Regions from separate parts of the Homo sapiens genome. Here all the other regions are linked to region 1. The links are contacts of gene promoters, found by promoter capture Hi-C in blood cells and fetal thymus (Javierre and others, 2016). All regions are on one chromosome and are shown on one strand. The core of a region is centred on a gene start or on the middle of the fragment in contact, and the rest is flanking DNA. Distances in the headings are between cores, read along the strand shown. Region 1 holds the start of ACTR6 (actin related protein 6). Region 2 overlaps PARPBP (PARP1 binding protein). Region 3 overlaps NUP37 (nucleoporin 37). Region 4 overlaps WASHC3 (WASH complex subunit 3). Region 5 has its middle 5.2 kb from the start of TRW-CCA4-1. Region 6 has its middle 10 kb from the start of GNPTAB. Region 7 has its middle 16 kb from the start of SNORA53.

The links. Contacts are between HindIII fragments. The CHiCAGO score rates a contact against its expected background, and 5 or more counts as called.
Region 2: a fragment that was not itself captured here is called in contact with the fragment with the promoter of ACTR6 in region 1 in 1 of 17 cell types (naive CD8 T cells); the score reaches 6.5 in naive CD8 T cells.
Region 3: a fragment that was not itself captured here is called in contact with the fragment with the promoter of ACTR6 in region 1 in 1 of 17 cell types (neutrophils); the score reaches 5.8 in neutrophils.
Region 4: a contact is called between a fragment that was not itself captured here and the fragment with the promoter of ACTR6 in region 1, in 4 of 17 cell types (naive CD4 T cells, naive CD8 T cells, non-activated CD4 T cells and 1 more). The highest score is 11.2, in naive CD4 T cells.
Region 5: a contact is called between a fragment that was not itself captured here and the fragment with the promoter of ACTR6 in region 1, in 5 of 17 cell types (total CD4 T cells, naive CD8 T cells, fetal thymus and 2 more). The highest score is 10.1, in total CD4 T cells.
Region 6: a contact is called between a fragment that was not itself captured here and the fragment with the promoter of ACTR6 in region 1, in 2 of 17 cell types (naive CD8 T cells and non-activated CD4 T cells). The highest score is 9.2, in naive CD8 T cells.
Region 7: a contact is called between a fragment that was not itself captured here and the fragment with the promoter of ACTR6 in region 1, in 1 of 17 cell types (total B cells). The highest score is 10.6, in total B cells.

The regions. Positions count from the first base shown.
Region 1 is chr12:100,199,500-100,202,215 of GRCh38, reverse strand. ACTR6 (actin related protein 6) reads right to left here and starts at 1,401. Exons shown (of 11, transcript NM_022496.5): 1 at 1,297-1,401. The coding sequence starts at 1,364. RefSeq lists enhancers at 1-293, 1,138-1,337, 1,311-1,605 and a silencer at 2,098-2,457. The HindIII fragment of the contact is 11,223 bases long and covers 1-2,716 here.
Region 2 is chr12:102,127,641-102,130,356 of GRCh38, reverse strand. The region is part of intron 2 of PARPBP (PARP1 binding protein); the gene reads right to left. Among named protein-coding and RNA genes, the nearest start is that of PARPBP, 8.8 kb to the right of the region's middle. The HindIII fragment of the contact is 9,864 bases long and covers 1-2,716 here.
Region 3 is chr12:102,109,596-102,112,311 of GRCh38, reverse strand. NUP37 (nucleoporin 37) reads left to right here. Exons shown (of 10, transcript NM_024057.4): 3 at 80-204. Among named protein-coding and RNA genes, the nearest start is that of NUP37, 9.2 kb to the left of the region's middle. The HindIII fragment of the contact is 4,522 bases long and covers 1-2,716 here.
Region 4 is chr12:102,051,317-102,054,032 of GRCh38, reverse strand. The region is part of intron 2 of WASHC3 (WASH complex subunit 3); the gene reads left to right. Among named protein-coding and RNA genes, the nearest start is that of WASHC3, 9.3 kb to the left of the region's middle. The HindIII fragment of the contact is 4,399 bases long and covers 1-2,716 here.
Region 5 is chr12:98,508,083-98,510,798 of GRCh38, reverse strand. No RefSeq gene overlaps it. Among named protein-coding and RNA genes, the nearest start is that of TRW-CCA4-1, 5.2 kb to the right of the region's middle. RefSeq lists an enhancer at 1,887-2,430. The HindIII fragment of the contact is 8,186 bases long and covers 1-2,716 here.
Region 6 is chr12:101,839,643-101,842,358 of GRCh38, reverse strand. No RefSeq gene overlaps it. Among named protein-coding and RNA genes, the nearest start is that of GNPTAB, 10 kb to the right of the region's middle. The HindIII fragment of the contact is 1,998 bases long and covers 403-2,400 here.
Region 7 is chr12:98,614,079-98,616,794 of GRCh38, reverse strand. It overlaps a transcript of IKBIP not described here. Among named protein-coding and RNA genes, the nearest start is that of SNORA53, 16 kb to the right of the region's middle. The HindIII fragment of the contact is 2,195 bases long and covers 219-2,413 here.

The DNA.
Region 1 (2,716 bases), core at 152-2,651:
CTCACACCTGTAATCCCAGCACTTTAGGAGGCTGAAGCAGGCAGATCACGAGGTCAGGAATTCCAGACCAGCATGGCCAAAATGGTGAAACCCCCGTCTCTACTAAAAATACAAAACTTAGCCAGGCGTGGTGGTGCGCAACTGTAGTCCCAGCTACTTGGGAGGCTGAGGCATGAGAATGGCTTGAACCCGGGAGGCAGAGGTTGCAGCGAGCCGAGATCGTGCCACTGCACTCCAGCCTGGACAAGAGAGCCAGACTCCCTCTCCAAAAAAAAAAAAAAAAATTGCTTTGTCAGCTGGGTGTAGGGCTCACGCCCCTAATACCAGCACTTTGGGAGGCCAACGCGGGTAGACTGCTTGAGGCCAGGGGCTCGAGACCGGCCTGGCCAACATGATGAAACCCCGTCTCTAACAAAAATACAAAAAATTCGCTGGGAGTGGTGGTGCACGCCTATAATCCCAGCTACTCTGGAGGCTGAGGCGGGAGAATCACTTGAATTCAGGCTGCAGTGAGCTGAGATCGCACCACGGCACTCCAGCCTCGGTGACAATGATAATGATACACATTGCCAAAACGTTTTCCAGAAAGATTGTAACAATTTACATTCCTACTCAGTTTGATTTCCCTCTTTCATTTCTGTTTCAAAAGAAATGAAAAAGAAGGAAAGGAGGGAGGAAGGAAAGAATTTTTTTTAATGCTCTGTTAATTTGATAAAGGAAAGGCGTGTCTTTAGGTTTGCTTATTTATTCAAACATATATTTTATGACTATACATGTTATGAATGCCATTGTATTAACAGTACTTCTGTTTAATTGACCTTACCAACTAGGTCGGCCAGTAGGCCAAAGTCTTCAAAGCCTCTAGATCCTAAGACCGTGATTTTTAGACTTTTGGAGGGTCATAGAACCCTTTGAGAATCTAATGAAACCTATAATCTTGTACCCAGGAAAATCCGCATACACCCAAACACCGTGCCCATAGTTTCCAAAGGCTGATGAACTTTACGGACCCTTCTGTCAGGAACGCATCTCTATAAGCCTATTTTCTTTGGCTATTTCCTGTTACGAAATAAAACATATATCCCACTTCCGGGGCCTCGCAGCCCAAAACTAAAACCAAAATCAATTTCAATTCAAAGCATCACAATCACCCACCCAGCTCCAACCAGGGAATCCCTCTGGCTAAGTCAGGGCCGCGCGGGGGTGTCTGCAGTTCATTGATGTCCGGAGATGAAACGTAGCACATGAAACCACTAGGCGTATATATCTTGTCCCTCGGAGAAAGAAAGTACTTACGACACATTTTCATGGCTGTAACCGATTTTGGCGTTGTAAGCTCCATTATCCAGCACTAAGGTCGTCATCTCACCACCAACCACACCGCAGCCGTAGTTGTTTTCCCTTTCCGACCCCTCTGCTCGAGCTTTTTCCGGTACTCTATGGTTTGTTGGGCGGAGCGTTAGGACGCGCCTCTGGTCACCTTAGCAACGGAGGACGCCGGAAGTCGGAGATGCTAAGCAGCACCGAATGTTAGGGGCTGTGCTTCCAAACTTAACCTGTTTATGTGGTGGCGAGATTTGACTACTATGTGCTTTCTCGCTCATTTCGTATTTGTTTTTAACTACGCAGATTAATTCGCGCAAGTTTTTTCTAATCCTGTAGAGAACCGGCTGCGTGTGTGTGTGTGTGTGTGTGTGTGTGTGTGTCTTCCAATCGCATTCTTCAGACGGTGACATTCTTTGAAGAAAAAAGTGCAAAACTTGCTCTTGGACTCACATTCATACTCTCCTCTTCCCCAGCCCACTTGCTCTTCAGGACGAAGCTGAGTGAGTCTTTCTCATCCAAAAAAGGCTTTTGGGCCGGACGCGGTGGCTCACGCCTGTAATCCCAGCACTTTAGGAGACCAAGGCAAGCAGATCACTTGAGGTCAGGAGCTTGAGACCAGCCTGACCAACACGGCGAAACCCCGTCTCTATTAAAAATACAAAAAGTAGCCGGGCGAGGTGGCGGGCGCCTGTAATCCCAAGTACTCGGGAGGCTGAGGCGGGAGAATTGCTTGAACCGGGGAGGCGGAGGTTGCAGTGAGCCGAGATGGCTCCACTACACTCCAGCCTGGGCGACAGAGCGAGACTCCGGCAGGGCGGGGACTTGGCAGGTGCGGGAGGCAGGACCTGGCTTCCGGGGCGTCGCGGGGGCAACGGCCAGCGGGCGGGGGCAAGGGCCAGCGGGCTAGGACAACTGCCAACGGGCTTGGAGGGGGGCGTTCTACAAATTCCAGGCCACTTTGAGCGCCTGAGAGAGGAGCGGGGCGGCGGGAAGGGGGCACCGCGGGGGCAGGGAGCGCAGCAGCCGCAGCGCGAAGGCGCGGGGGCCGGGGAACAAACGGTTGGCGCGCAGGCAGCCATACCGGGGCCGGAACCCGGGCAGAGGAGGGCAGCGACGGCGATGGGGAGGCTGCAGAGCCCGGGGCGGGTACCGCGCGGGAACCAGCGCGACTGCGTGGCTACCGCAGCCGTCGGTTCGTGTTGGACGGGCGCCGCTGCTGCCTCTGCTACTTCAAGAACCCCCACGACCCGCTGCCCCTCGGCCACCTGGACATAGCAGAAGCCTGCTTCAGCTACCAGCGCGCCGACGAGGCGGCGGAGCAGCCTGCGCACTTCCAGGTGCGCAGCGCGGGAGCCGCCACGGTGCTTGAGGTGGGAACTCGCGCCCTGCA
Region 2 (2,716 bases), core at 61-2,560, 1.9 Mb before region 1:
TTTGGCATCTTCATCATGAAATCGTTGCCCATGCCTGTGTCCAGAATGGTATTGCCTAGGTTGTCTTCCAGGGTTTTTCCAGTTTTGGGTTTTATATGTAAGTCCCTCATCTTGAGTTGATTTTTGTATGTAGTTTAAGGAAGAGGTCCGGTTTCAATCTTCTGCACATGGTTAGCCAGTTATCCCAGCACTATTTATTGAATAGGGAATCCTTTCCCCATTGCTTGTTTTCATCAGCTTTGTTGAAGATCAGATGGTTGTTGGTGTGTGGTCTTATTTCTGGGCTCTGTATTCTGTTCCATTGGTCTATGTGTCTGTTTTTCTACCAATACCATGCTGTTTTGGTTACTGTAGCCCTTTAATACAGTTTGAAGTCAGGTAGCATGATACCACCTGCTTTCTTCTTTTTGCTTAGGATAGCCTTAGCTATTTGGGGTCTTTTTGGGTTCCATAGGAATTTTAAAAGAGCTTTTTCTAGCTCTGCAAAGAATGTCACTGGAAGTTTGACAGGATTAGCATTAAATATATAAATTGCTTTGGGCAGTAGTCAAGTCTAGAGGCAAATCAGGAATGCAACCTCATTCACAATTGCCATAAAAAGAATAAAATACCTGGAAATACAGTCAACCAGGGAGGTGAAAGATCTCTACAATGAAAACTACAAAACACTGCTCAAAGAAATCAGAGAAGGTACAAACAAATGGAAAAACATTCCAGGCTCATTGGCTAGAAGAATGAATATCAAAATGTATTAAAGGCTTAAATTTAACATTTGAAACTGCAAAAGTCCTAGAAAAAAACAGAGGAAAAACTCCATGACATTGGTCTGGGGAATGGTTTTTTGGACATAAACCCAGAAGCACAGAAAACAAAAGCAAAAATACATGAATGGGATTATATCAAACTAAAAACTTTCTGCACAGCCAAGGAAACAATCAGCAGAGTGAAGAGACAACCTATGGAATGGGAGAAAATATATCCAAATCATGTATCAGATAAAAGGTTAATATCCAAAATATATAAGAAACTCAATAAGAAAACAACCCCATTAAAAAAAAAATGGGCAAAAGAGCAGGATGCAGTGGCGTATGCCCACAGTCTCAATTACTTCAGAGGTTGAGGCAGGAGAATTCTTGAGCCTAGGAGTCCAAGTACAGCCTGGGCAACATATTGAGACTCTGTCTCTAAATAATAAAATGAATTTTAAAAATAATCGTTTTTTAAGAATTGGACAAAGGATCTGAATAGACATTTCCAAAAAGAAGACACACAAATTGCCAAGAGGTATATAAAAAATGCTCAACATTACTAATCATCAGAAAAATGCAAATGGAAACCAAAATAAATTATGACCTGTTAGAATGGCCATTATTGAAAAGATAAAAGTGTTAAAAAAAAATGTGAAGAAAAGGGAATCCTTTGTATACTGTTGGTGGAAATGTAATTAGTATAAGCATTACAGTATGAAAGTTTCTCAAAAAATAAAACTACCATATGATCCTGCAATCCCAATACTGGGTATATATCCAAAGGAAATGAAATCAGTAGTGAAGAGAGATCAGGACTCCTATGGCCATTGCTGCATTGTTCACAATAGCCAAGATATGGAATCAACCTAAGTATCCATCAATGGATGAATGGATAGAAAATGTGGTATATATACACAATGGAATGCTATTCAGCCCCATAAAAGAGAGAAATCCTGTCATTTGTAACAACATGGATGTACCTGGAAAACATTATATTAAGGAAAGTAAGACAGGCATAGAAAGACAAACACCACATAATCTCACTTACAAGTGGTGTGTTAAAAAGTTGAACTTACAGGCCGGGCACGGTGGCTCATGCCTGTAATCCCAGCACTTTGGGAGGCCGAGGTGGGCAGATCACGAGGTCAGGAAATCGAGACCATCCTGGCTAACACGGTGAAACCCCGTCTTTACTAAAAATACAAAAAATTAGCCGGGTGTGGTGGCGGGTGCCTGCAGTCCCAGCTACTAGGGAGGCAGAGGCAGAAAAATGGCGTGAACCCGGGAGGGGGAGCTTGCAGTGAGCTGAGATTGCACCACTGCACTCCAGCATGGGAGACAGAGTGAGACTCCATCAAAAAAACAAAAGAGGTGAACTTATAGAAGTAGAAAGACAATGATGGTTACTAGGGGATGTGGGGACACAGTGGGTGGGGTGGATGGGGAGATACTCATCAAAGTATATACAGTTTCTGTTAGGAGGAATAATTTCAAGAGATCTATTGTACAACATGGTGTTGCTAGTTAATAACACTGTTGTATCCTTGAAAACTGTTCAGAGAATACATTTTAATTGTTATCACCACAAAAATGTTAAGAATGTGAGGTAATGCATATTAATTTGCTCAGTTAAGCCATTTCACAATGTATACATATTTCAAAATATATTGTACATGATAAATAAATACAATTTTTTGTCAATTTAAAAAACTAATTTTTTTTAAAAATTAAGTGATTTGTCTAAGGCCACTCAGTCAAAAGGCTGAATTAGGCTGTGAACCCAAGCCAACTGACTCCCTAGCATTTACTCTTAGCCATAATACAAACTGCTCTGTTTTATTAACAATATATTTTGAATATTTTTCCATGTCAATAAATGTACATGTACCCAAGCTATTTAATTATTGCACACTATTCTACTGGTGGTTTACAATGCTATATAGAACCAACCTCCAGGTCATATACAT
Region 3 (2,716 bases), core at 123-2,622, 1.9 Mb before region 1:
TAAATTCATTATAATGAAATACAGAATATTATATTGTTTGTTCTCATTACTTATTAAAACATTTACTGTGTATGCTTAGGAAGAAGAAGCAGACGTTGAAGGCATTCAGTATAAAACACTTCGAACATTTCACCATGGAGTCAGGGTTGATGGCATAGCTTGGAGCCCAGAGACTAGACTTGATTCATTGCCTCCAGTAATCAAGTAAGTTTAACAGTACCAAATGCATTCCTTACTAATGTACTTTGATTGTGTTACATGATTGGAAGTCTGATCATAGATACTTTTTTCTCAATTTCCATTTTCCACAATCCAAGATATTAGATATTTTGATATTTGCTACTACTTAATAATTTAGGCTTATCATCTGAATTTGTGATTTAAATATACAGCCATGACTATGATGCCTTGACCATGTGTTTGAGCCAAACTACAAAACCTTTTACGTGAGATTCATCTGAATCAAGGTCTTTACAGATTGTTCACTGAATTTACAACTTTATTGAAAGTATAACTTAAAATAACTAAATTTGGTTGAGACATTAATGAGCTTTCCTTCCCCACCCATAGGCCAAGATCACATTTTTTTGTCCAACAGTATATAAATCTGTAAGTTCTGGTCCTGGACTTCAGTTTTTGTGAAAGTGTTTAAAAGGAATGATGGTTTTCTGAGAAAAAAATCCTAGCAATGCCTGCTGAAGCCCTCTTTACAGGGGCAAGAATATGTTAGGTTATTTAAGATCTGTTACAAAACACTAGCCTTGCCTTCTACAAATGTCAAATCTAAAAGATGTGTCTTCTTTTAGTAGACAGTACTTAGGAACTAAAAGTTATCAACTATTAAGCTAACTTCGTTTTTTTTAAATTAAGGGATAATTTAGATACTCTGAAATTCTCAGCTCTTAAGGGTATAGTTTGATCAGTTTTGACAAATACGTATATTTGTACAACCCACACCCTATTCATGCACTGTTTCTGTCACCCAAGAAAGTTTCGTCATACTTCTTCCCAGTTAATCATTGTACCCCACTCCCTGCAGAAGCAACCATTGATCTGATTTCTATTACCAGAAATCAGTTTTGCCTATTCTAGAACTTCATATAAGTGGGATCATACAGAATGTCTTTTGTGTCTGGCTTGTTTTTGCAATTTTTCCACATTGTTATGTATACCAGTGCTTTTTAAGTAGTACTCCATTACAGTGTATCAATAGACCATAGTCTGTTTATTCATTCTTCTGTAAATAGGTACCAATACAGTTTCTAGGCTTTAGTTATTATTTTTTGCTGAATACTGCTTTGGGTGGTTATATGATTTAATTTAGGAGTAGAATTGCTGAGTCACAGGGTAGATGTATGTTTAACATTTTAAGAAAATGCCAGTTTCTAAAGTGGTTCTACCATTTTGTCTTTTCCCCAATAATCTAAGGGTGGTCTTCCTACTCTCCAACACTCATTCATTCATTTTGAGACAAGGTCTGGCTCTATTGCCCAGGCTGGAGTACAGTGGCACCATCTCCACTCACTGCAATCTCTGCTTCCCAGGCTCAAGCCGTCTTCCCACCTCAGCCTCCTCCTGAGTAGCTGGGACTATAGGCGCCCATCATCATGCCTGGCTAATTTTGGTATTTTTTGTAGGGACAGGGATTTGCCTGTTGCCCAGGCTGGCCTCAAACTCCTGAGCTCAGGCAATCCATGTGCCTTGGCCTCCCAAAGTGCTGGGATGACAGCATGAGCCACCATACCTGGCCTATTCTCCAATATTTGCTATTGTCAATCTTTCTTTTTTTTTTTTTTATTTTTTTGGTACATGGTCTCACTCTATCTCCCAGGCTGACAGCCAGACCCATAATCACAGCTTACTGCAGCCTCAACCTCCCTTGGCTCAGCCTCAACCCTCCCTCTCACCTCCGCCTCCCAAGTAGCTGGAACTACAGGCATGCACCACCACTCCCGGCTAATTTTTTGTATTTTTTGCAGTGATGGGGTTTCGCCATGTTGCCCAGGCTGGTCTCGAGCACCCAGGCTCGAGCAATTCACCTACCTTGACCTCCCAAAGTGTTAGGATTACAGGCATGAGCCACTGTGCCCAGCCTGTCTTTTTAATTTTAGCCATTCTGGTTGATGCCACAATGACATTTCCATGATGAGTGATAATGCTGACGCTTTTTTGGTATATTTGTTTCTTCTATTAGAAATCTTTGTGTGATTTCTTATAGGTTGTGAAGATGTTGCATGTTTTTTCCTAGAAGCCTTTACCGATATTTAGCTAACTTAATTGAATAATCTACACAATAGCTTTTGTCAGCACACGTAATGTCATTGCCAACAGCTGGTGTGCTGTTGATTTCCTTTTATATTAAAAGAAAGTGGTCACAATATCTAGACCTAAACAAGAACAAGTCTCTTTGATTCTTTAAATTTTTAAAGCTGTGGAAACAGTCTTCTTCCCTTGGTTTTAAGTTTTGTGATACCTCTTTAATCTACATATTCAGCTGTTGTATTCTATGCTTTCCTTGTTGCTTAGTACTTGTTTTCCTGTCCTCTTTTTAGTGAATTTGCTGTGTTTCATCATTTCTGGTTGGTGTTTTTGTTTGGTTGGATTTTTCTTATTTTTTGGTAAACTGTCTCAAGACCTTTTTGGAACTATACAAATTCAGTAACAAATTCAAAAGACATTAGCAGGCCATTAATTTTAGACTATTTTTAGAGCAACC
Region 4 (2,716 bases), core at 57-2,556, 1.9 Mb before region 1:
GTTATAACAGGCTATTTTAAACTGATAATAACATAATTGATAACATAAAAAACCTCTGCACTTTTACTCCACCTCTCCACATTTTGCTTTTGATTTTGCAACGTATATCTTTTTATACTGCATATCCCTTAACAAGTTATTGTAGCTATTATTATTTTTAATAGTTTTGTCTGTTAACTTTCATACTAAAGATATAAGTGATTTAATCACCATGACAGTATTAGAATATTCTGAATTTGACTGTATACATTTTTTTTTCAGCTCTAAAATTTCTGTTTGATTTTTTAAATAATAATTCCAATCTTTCTGTTACATTTCTCATTTTGGTCATTTATTATTTTCTTGATTTCATTGAATTGTTTCTCTGAATTTTCCTGAAGTCCACTGAGTTTCCCTAAAACAATAATTTTGGATTCGTTGTGAAGAAGGGTCAGTTACTGGTGATTTGTTTCTTTAGTAGTGACGTGTTTCTCTGATTATTCTTGGTCTTTGTGGCCATGTGTTGGTATGTGTGTGTTTGAAGAAGTAAGGACTTACTCCAGTCTTTGCAGACTGGCTTTGTCTGGGAAAGCCCTTCACCAGTAAGCTCATCCAGAGGTTCTAGACAGGCCATCTGTTGTGGTGCATGGCAGGCTTGCTGCTGGAGTCCTTGGGTAGGCTGGCCTGGTGCCTAGGTTCGTAGGGTTGTTCCTGGAGCCTGATCCACTGGGGTGGACCTGCTGATTAGCTCTATAGGGGTGGGCCTGGATCCTTAGGGTTCCAACTTGAAGCCTAAGTCTGCAGGGGTTGGTCTGGCACTGGGGTGAGCCTTGAGCCTGAGTCTGCAGTGTCTGGCCAGGTTCCAAGGTGGGCCTGGTGCTTGGAACCCCTGGGGTGGACCTGGAGCCAGAGTATGTGGGGGTGGGCCTGGGTCCTGGTTGTACTGTGACTAGCCTGGAGCCTGAGTCTGCAGGAGTGGTCCTGCAGCCTCCGTCCATGGGGGCCAATCTGGCAATGCAATCTACTGGGGTGGTCCCAGACTCTGGGTCTGCTGGAACATACCTAGACCCTGACTCACCACAGGGATTTGTCTGGGGCCAGCTTGGTGCTGGGGCAAGTGTGCAGCCTGGGGTCACAGGGGCCAGACTGGAGCCTGAGATTATAGGTGCTGGCCTGGTAACTTGGGCTACATGGGGCTGGCCTGGGTCCTACGGCAATAGTGGCTAGCCTGGAACTTGAGTCCACAGGGATGGTCCTGGAGCCTGTGTTTATGGGTGTCAGCCCAACAGAAGGGCCTACTGGGATGGGCCTAAACCCTACTTCCACTAGGGTATGGGCTGCAGGAGCCAGACTGGGGCCACAGGAGCTGACTTGGCACTGGTCAGGCCTGGAACCTATATCTGCAGGAGCTGACCTGGTGCTGGGGTGGGCCTGAACCTTGGGCCCATGGAGGCTAGCCCTGTGCTGGGATTGGTCCAGAACCTAGGGCCACTGGGGCTGGCCTGTCCCTAGAGCAGACCTGGAGACAATCTATGCAGTCTTGCCTGGTGCTGGGACTGTCCTGAGCCTTGAGCTGGTCTGGAACCTACGGTCCCAGTGGGACAAGCCTAGAACTCAGGACTGGGTGATCCAGCCTAGTGCCAGGATGGGCCTAAAGGCTTCGCCTGCAGGTGTCAGCCTGGAGTCTGGGCTGAGGGGGCTTGCTCAGCACTGAGTTCTGCTGGGGTGGGCCTGGTGTTGTGGTCCAAGGCAAAGTCCTGTGCTCACTGCCTCTCCTTCGCCCACCTGGAGGGTATCTCTCTCCATGCTGTGCTGCCTGGAGTTGGGGGAAGGGTGACATGAGTTCTGTAAAACTGTCCTTCTTACCCTCTTCAGTGTGTTTTTTCTTACTTTTGTGCTAAACCCAGTGCTGTAATTTCTCACCTGGTCTCCTTAGCTCTTGAGAATGTATTTTCGTGCGTGAATAGTTTTTCAAATGGATGTTTCTGTGGGAGGATCAGTGCTGGAAAGTCCTATTCCCCCATCTTGCTGTTGTCCCACCTTTTTCTCCTTTATGTATGATAATCTAGGGTTGACTGTAACTGATTGTCTACAATATATATTTTAGCAATTTGGATATTCATGTCAGCTGGAGACTGCTCAATGAGATAACAACTAATATTTATTGTGTACTTCCTCTGTGCTGGGCATCATACTAAGTGCTTTATGTGTATTTAATTATCGCAGTCAGTCCTTTGAGAGAGGTTTAGTTATCCCACTCATACAGATACAGAAACTAAGATGTAGAGAAGTTTAAATCATTTGCTTAGTCATTCATTCATTCAACATATCTTTGCATGCCCCCAGTAGTTGTAGCTGCATTAGCTGCACATACACAGATAGAAAGTAGCAGAACTGGATTCCCACTGATTTTTTAACTGGAAAAGTCAATATCTCATTGCTTTCTTACATTGCACTGCTTTATCTGATTAAGAAGCATGCTTATGTCAACTTCAAGTGAGAGAGTGCAGTACAAGTACCTTCTTATAGCTATATTAAAATCTATTTTTAGACTCATTCACTTCTTTGCTATGCTATGTCTGTTTGATGTAATATATTTTTATGTCAATTCCAAAGATACATGTATTCAAATGTAAGGTGCCATTTTCTCCCAAGGTAAAGTCACTTTGGTGTTTTGAAATGTTTTTGTTAATAGTGCCTAATAGGCCTCTAGTCCTTATTTATTTAAAGCCTCAAA
Region 5 (2,716 bases), core at 131-2,630, 1.7 Mb after region 1:
ACCAACATGGTGGAAGCCCCTCTCTACTGAAAATACAAAAGTTAGCCGTGCCTGGTGGCATGCGCCTGTAATCCCAGCTACTTGGGAGGCTGAGGTGGGAGAATCCCTTGAACCCGGGAGGCGGAGGTTGCAGTGAGCTGAGATGGCACCATTGCACTCCAGCCTGGGCAACAGAACGAGACTCGGTCTCTCAAAAAAAAAAAAAGTTTAGCTCCCTTAAGCCATTTCTGATAATTTATTCTAAAGATAAAATCAAATGTGGAATTCATTTATAAAGGTATTTATTGCTTCATTTATAATGGTGAAAAAAATAAAAAATCTCTATCTCCAATAGTAAGGAATTGGTTGTTTATGATATATCCATATGACAAAATAATGCACAGTAGTAAAAAATCATGTTTTGACATTTAAGAATATGAGGCTGGCTTGGTGGCTGTCACCTATAATCCCAGTACTTTGGAAGGCTGAGGTGGGAGGATCCCTTGAGCTCAGGAGTTTGAGACCAGCCTGGGCAACATAGGGAGACCCCAGTCTCTACTAAAAATAACCAAAAATTAGGTGGGGCCGGGCACGGTGGCTCACGTCTGTAATCCCAGCACTTTGGGAGGCCGAGGCGGGCGGATCACCCAAGGTCAGGGGTTCAAGACCAGCCTGGCCAACGTGGCGAAACCCTGTCTCTACTAAAAATACAGTAATTATCCAGGTGTGGTGGTGGGCACCTGTAATCCCCAGCTACTTGGGAGGCTGAGGCAGAAGAATCACCTGAACCTGGGAGGCGGAGGTTGCAGTGAGCCAAGATCTCGCCATTGCACTCCAGCCTGGGCAAGAGCGGAACTCAGTCTCAAAAAAAAAGAAAAAAAAAAAATTAGCTGGCATGCTGGTGTGCTCCTGTACTCCCAGCTATTGGGGAGGCAAAAAAAAAAAAAAAAAAAAGAAAAGAAAAGAAAAAAAATAATATACATCAAAGTGGAGTACTTTCTCTTGGATAGTGAGGCACAGGTGATTCTTATTTTCTTTTTATTTATATGTCTGTATTTCCCTAGATTTCCACAATGAACACATATGATTTTAAAACCATATTTTTCTTTTTAAGTGAGAGTGCTAAGTTGGAGAACCATTTGGCTTATCAGAATTCAGGTCTGCATTTCAATTCTGCGTGTCCAAAAGCTCAATTTTATTAGTTCGTCCAGAATACATCGCTCTGTAAACCAAGAGAATCGGAGACAGGTCTCAATCAATTTAGAAAGTTTATTTTGCCAAGGTTAAGGACACACCCATGACACAGCCTCAGGAGGTCCTGACGACATGTGCCCAAGGTTGTGTGGCACAGCTTGGTTTTATACATTTTAGGGAGACATGAGACATCAATCAATATGTTTAAGATGTACAATGGTCCCATCCAGAAAGGCGGGACAGCTATTAATACAAGTGGGGGTTGGGGGGCTCCGGGGTGTTCCAGGTCATAGGTAGATAAAAGACCAATGGTTGCATTCTTTTGAGTTGCTGATTAGCCTTTCACTGAATACACTATTTACAGGAATAGTCACTTATGTTAGTCTGGCTTAGGGAAACAAAAGGGCAATCAGATATGCATTTATCTCATATGAGCAGAGGGATGACTTTTTAAATCTCTATCTGTCCTTTGTCCACAAGGAATTTCTTTGTGGTCAAATTGTGAGGGAGGTATATATAGCTTTTTTATCTTAGTAGCTATCTTTTTTTTTAGGAGTAGAATGGGAGGCAGGTTTGCCCTAAGCAGTTCCCAGCTTGACTTTCCCTTTGGCTTAGTCATTTTTGGGGTCCTGATGTTAGAGGGGTTTGAATCACAGCACCTCCATGTTGAAAAAAGGGTGGGTAAGGCCGTGCACGGTGGCCCATGCCTGTAATCCCAGCACTTTGGGAGGCCAAGGTGGGTGGATCACCTGAGGTCGGGAGTTTGAGACCAGCCTGATCAACATGGAGAAACCCTGTCTCTACTAAAAATACAAAATTAGCTGGGCGTGGTGGCACATGCCTGTAATCCCAGCTACTCAGGAGGCTGAGGCAGAAGAATCGCTTGAACCCGGGAGGCGGAGGTTGTAGTGAGCCAAGATCGCGCCATTGCAGTCCAGCCTGGACAACGAGCAAAACTCCGTCTCAAAAAAAAAAAAAAAAAAAAAAGAAAAGACCTACTGGGCTGCATTCCCAGACAGTTAAGGCATTTTAAGTCACAAGACGAGATAGGAGGTCGGCAGAAGATACAGGTCATAGGCCGGGCACGGTGGCTCACGCCTGTAATCCCAGCACTTTGGGAGGCCAAGGCAGGTGGATCACGAGGTCAGGAGTTCGAGACCAGCCTGACCAACATGGTGAAACCCTGTCTCTACTAAAAATACAAAAATTAGCTGGGCGTGGTGGCGCGTGCCTGTAGTCCCAGCTACTCAGGAGGCTGAGGCAGAAGAATTGCTTGAACCTGGGAGGTGGAGGTTGCAGTGAGCTGAGATTGCACCACTGCACTCCAGCCTGGGCGAGAGTGAGACTCTGTCTCAAAAAAAAAAAAAAAAAAAAAAAAAAAGACACAGGTCATAAAGACCTTGCTGGTGAAACAGGTTGCAGTAGCCTGCCAAAACCCACCAAAACCAAGATGGCGATGAGAGTGACCTCTGGTTGTCCTCACTGCTACACTCCCACCAGCACCATGACAGTTTACAAATGCCATGGCAATGTCAGGAGGTTA
Region 6 (2,716 bases), core at 152-2,651, 1.6 Mb before region 1:
GGTTCTTGCCACATTCATTTATTCGTTCCTTTAGCCTAAAATGTCAGAAGCACCAGTTATTACTCTTTCACTGTGATATTTATACTTTGGATAAATTAACTCTGAAATTTCCTTGTTGGTTGGCATCACTTGGACTTTTACTGTGCTCCTGGGATTGGTTACAGTGAGTTTAATACATCTAGAGCACTGCCAAAGCATTATAGCAAAATATCAGAGTATCCCTGACAGTATTCTGGAAAGCAGACTATGCAAAATGCAAAAGTCTCCCTATTTAATTATGAACTTGACATTGCAATGAATTAGAGAATCAGCATTTATGGATAATCAAATATATATATTGAGTGCTCACTGCTTTGGGTGTTTTGTTTGCTTGTTTGTTTGTTTCCGGTGGGGTTGGAAGCTTTGGTTTTAAGGAGATGAAAACTAAAGAAAGTTCCAAATGCTTGGAGATCAGAAAATTGATCCAGTTTTCAAACACCAGGTACAAAGATGAGGGTAGGAGTTAGCTTTTGCAAATAGGTAGATTCTGCAAAGTACATCACAGTGGACTTCATATTGATCCTGAGGTTTGTGAGAACTTAAACAGGGAAGAAATTAGGAACTAAGGGGGAGACAGGAGAGACAAGACAGACAGAAAAATACACAGAGGGAATTTTCTTTCTTTCTTTCTTTCTCTCTTTCTTTCTTTTTTTTTGAGACAAAGTCTCACTCTGTTGCCCAGGCTGGAGTGCAGTGGCCTGATCTCGGCTCACTGCAAGCTCTGCCTCCTGGGGTTCACGCCATTCTCCTGCCTCAGCCTCCCGAGTAGCTGGGACTACAGGCGCCTGCCACCACACCCGGCTAATTTTTTGTATTTTTAGTAGAGACGGGGTTTCACCATGTTAGCCAGGATGGTCTCCATCTCCTGACCTCGTGATCCGCCCACCTTGGCCTCCCAAAGTGCTGGGATTATAGGCGTGAAACACTGAGCCCAGCCTCTTTGTTTCTTTCTCTCTCTCTTTCTTTCTTTCTCTCTCTCTCGCTCTCTCTTTTTCTTTTTCTTTCTTTCTTTCTTCTTTCTTTCTTTTCTTTCTTTCTTTCTTTTTCTTTCTTTCCCCCTCTCTCTCCCTTCCTTCCTTTCTTCCTCCTTTCCTTCTTTTCTTTTCTTTTGTCTTACTCTTTTGCCCAGGATGGAGTGCAGTGGTGCTATCACAACTCATTGTAACCTCAAACTTCTCAGCTCAAGTGATCCTCCCTCCTCAGCCTCCCAAGTAGCTAGAACTACAAGTCTGTACCACCACACCTAGCTAATTTAATTTTTTTTTTTTTTGAGATGGAGTCTCACTCTTATCACCCAGGCTAGAGTACAATGGCACAATCTCGACTCACTGCAACCTCCCCCTCCCGGGTTCAAGCGATTCTCAAGCCTCAGCCTCCTGAGTAGCTCGGATTACAGGCATGCGCCACCAGGCCTGGCTAATTTTTTTATTTTTAGTAGAGACGAGGTTTCGCCATGTTGGCCAGGCTGGTCCGTCTTGAACTCCTGATCTCAGGTGATCCACCCGCCTTGGCCTCCCAAAGTGCTGGGATTACAGGCGTGAGCCACTGCACGCGGCTAATTTTTTTTCTTTTCATAGAGATGGGTCTCACGATGTGCCCAGGCCAGTCTTAAACTCCTGGGCTCAAGCGACCCTCCAACCTTGGCCTCCCAAAGCACTGGGATTACAGGCATGAGCCAAAGCCATTGGTGAGAATATTTTCTTTTTGAGCAAACCTGAAACTTTACAAAAATGGACAATGTGCTAGGCAACGAAGGAAGAGTCAATGAATTCCAAGGAGTTTTACTATTATACAAGCTATGTTCTCTTACCTTATTTTGGTCAGGGTAATTATTTGTAGATTAAGGAATCTATTCACTGATTTAAACAGAAAGGGATTAAGTTGGCCTACCCATAAGCCCTCAGGAGGTCTGAACAAAGAGCCTTTACCTATGACAGTATTCTAGATAGAGACTACTAGGTTGAATTTGTAAGATCAGGTCCTAATACTCCACTGAACTAAGCTGTCAAGGGAGCTACTGACGCTGCCGGGATCAGAAAGAGCAGGATCAGGATGCTTTCTACAGAGGCAGGAAGCTGCTTCCAACTGCACCACACCTGCCTTGACTCACTCACTCCAGCCAAAACAGGCGCCCTTTGCACTGCCTCTCTCTCTCCATGTAGCTTACTTCCAGGTTGAAATCTTCTGTGAATTCACCTGATTAGGAGAACTTCAACCACACCTAGAACCCTGGCTTCAAGGATATGCCAATAATCAATTGTTGCCTCTCAGTTCCAAATTCACTCCTTCAGAACTTGCTGTGTATTAATGAATTGGACTTCTTTTGAAGCGTTTCTTTTGCAGTGAGTGTGATGTGAAGCTTTGCCAGTAGAGGGCGATGAAGGAATGTTGCAGGAAGAAGGTGGCATCACCCCCCGCCCCAACTCTTTCCATATTTGCTCCCCTCCCTTCCTCCGTCCTTTTAAAAATATTTATTTATTTGGCATAAAATTTTTTTACTGCTCTTTGTGGAGCAGGGCTACCCCATGGTGTGCCCATTTATTTTTTATTTATTTATTTTTTTAGAGACAGGGTCTCACTATGCTGCCCAGGCTGATCTCAAACTCCTGGGCTCAAGTGATCCTCCCACCTTGGCCTCCCAAAGTGTGCTGGGATTACAGGCATGAGGCATTGTTCC
Region 7 (2,716 bases), core at 67-2,566, 1.6 Mb after region 1:
TATGTTCAAATGATTCTCATCCAAGTTGCCAAGAACACACAAAAGGGAAAGGACATCTCTTTAATAAATGCTGTTGAGAAAACTGGATATCCTATGCAGAAGAATGAAACTGGACCCTTATATCAAACCATATACAAAAACCAATTCAAAATGAATTAAAGACTTAAATGTAACACCAGAAATTGAAAACCGCTGGAAGAAAACATGAGGAAAAAGCTTCTTGACGTTAGTCTTGGGAAAGATTTTTTTGAATAGAACCTGAAAAGAACAAGCAACAAAAGCAAAAATAGATAAATATGATTGTGTCAAACTAAAATCTTCTGTACAGAAAAGGAAACAGTCAACAGAGTGAAGAGACAACCTATAGAATGGGAGAAAATACTCATGAACCATAAATCTGAGAATGGCTTAATATCCAAAATATATAAGGAACTCAACTCAATAGCAAAAAAAAACCCAATTAAACAATGGGCTATGGACATGAATAGACATTTCTCAAAAGAAGACATAGTAATGGCCAACAGGTATATGGAAAAAAATGCTCAACATCACTAATTATCAGGGAAATGAAAAATTAAAACCACAATGAGATATCAACTCACACCTGTTAGAATATTTATTATCAAAAAGACAAAAGATAACAAGTGTTGGTGAGAATGTGGAGAAAAGGGAACCATCGTACACTGTGAGTGGGAAAGTATAGCCATTATGGAAAACAGTGTGGAGGTTCCTCAAAAAAAAAAAAACTAAGAATAATCATATGATCCAGCAATCCCACTTCTGGATATATATCCAAAAGAAATGAATCAGTATGTCAAGGAGTTTTCTGCACTCCCATATTCATTGCAGCATTACTCCCAATAGCCAAGATATGTAGAATCAACCTAAGTGTCAATCAACAGATGAATGATAAATAACACACACGCACACACACAAAATGCGGTTCTCCCTTTAAAAAGAAGGAAATCCTGTTATTTGTGACTACATGGATGAACCTAAACGATATTATGCTAAGTGGAATGAACCAGGCACAGAAAGACAAATACTGCATGATCTCAATTATATGTGGAATCTAGAAAAGTCAGACTCATAGAAGTACAGAGTAGAATGGTTACGAGGGATTGGAGGGGACAGGGTAGGACAATTGAGAGATGTTGATTAAAGAATACAAAGTTTCAGTTAAACAGGATGAATAAGTTCTGGAGATCTATTGTATAGTATGATGACTGTAAATAATAATAATATATACTTGAAAATTGCTAAGAGGCCGGGCGCGATGGCTCATGCCTTATAATCTTAGCACTTTGGGAGGTCGAGGCGGGCGAATCACTTGAGATTAGGAGTTTCAGACCAGCCTAGTCAACATGGTGAAACCCTGTCACTACTAAACAACAATCAGCCAGGCGTGGTGGCACACAACTGTGGTACCATCTACTCTGGAGACTGAGGCAGGAGAATCACTTGAACCCAGGAGGTAGAGGTTGCAGTCAGCAGAGATGGGGCTATTGCATTCCAGCCTGGGTACAGAGTGAGTGAGACTTCCATCTCCAAAAAAAAGAGAGAATTTCTAGGAGAGTAGATCTTAAATATTCTTACTACAAAAAAAAATACATGAGGTGATAGATATGTTCATTAGCTTGATTTAATCATTCACAATATGTGCGTAGATATGTATATCAAAATATTACATTGTACACAATAAATATATACAATTTTAATTTGTCAATTATACCTTAATAAAGCTGAAATAAAAAAGAACTTATGTTGCCTTGTCTCACCTAGCAAAGCTCAACTGGAGGAAACTTCCTTTTCCCTTCTCCAGCAACTGAAAAACCACATCACTGTCTCATGTAGCTCATTTTATTACTGTACAGAAGACCAATTGTGAAAATATTATAATGTAAAAAATGTAATTTCCAGGGACATTTCATGAAATTTTCTTAATGTTTCCTTCTTATTCATTAGTAATTCACTTACATTGTTCTAAATTCTCTTACTTCTGAAGTCGTCTTTTACCATATGCTTTCCAGAAGAACAGTAAAGTGTAGTTAAAAAATAACATAAGGCAGGGCGTGGTGGCTCACGCCTGTAATCCCAGGCATGGATTTAGGAGGCCGAGGTGGGCAGATAACCAGAGGTCAGGAGATCGAGACCAGCCTGTCCAACATGGTGAAGACCCGTCTCTACTAAAAATACAAAAAAAGTTAGCTGAGGTGGGGGCGGGTGCCTGTAATCCCAGCTACTTGGGAGGCTGAGTCAGGAAAATCGCTGGAACCCAGGAGGTGGAGGTTTCAGTGAGCCAAGATCGTGCCACTGCACTCCATCCTGGGTAACAGAACAAGCCTCTGTCTCAAAAAAAAAATTAAAATTAAAAAGAAATATAAAATTTAAGATGAATTTTAAATGGTAAGCTTCTAATACATTTAATCATTGTGATATTATATTTTCTTATAGTGGCAGAAATCTGAAGCTATCATGGAACAATTGAAGTCTTTTCAAATAATTGCTCATCTAAAGCGTCTACAGGAAGAAATTAATGAGGTAAAAACTTGGTCCAATAGGATAACTGAAAAACAGGATATACTGAACAACAGTCTGACGACGCTTTCTCAAGACATTACAAAAGTAGACCAAAGTACAACTTCCATGGCAAAAGATGTTGGTCTCAAGATTACAAGTGTAAAAACAGATATACGACGGATTTCAGGTTTAGTAA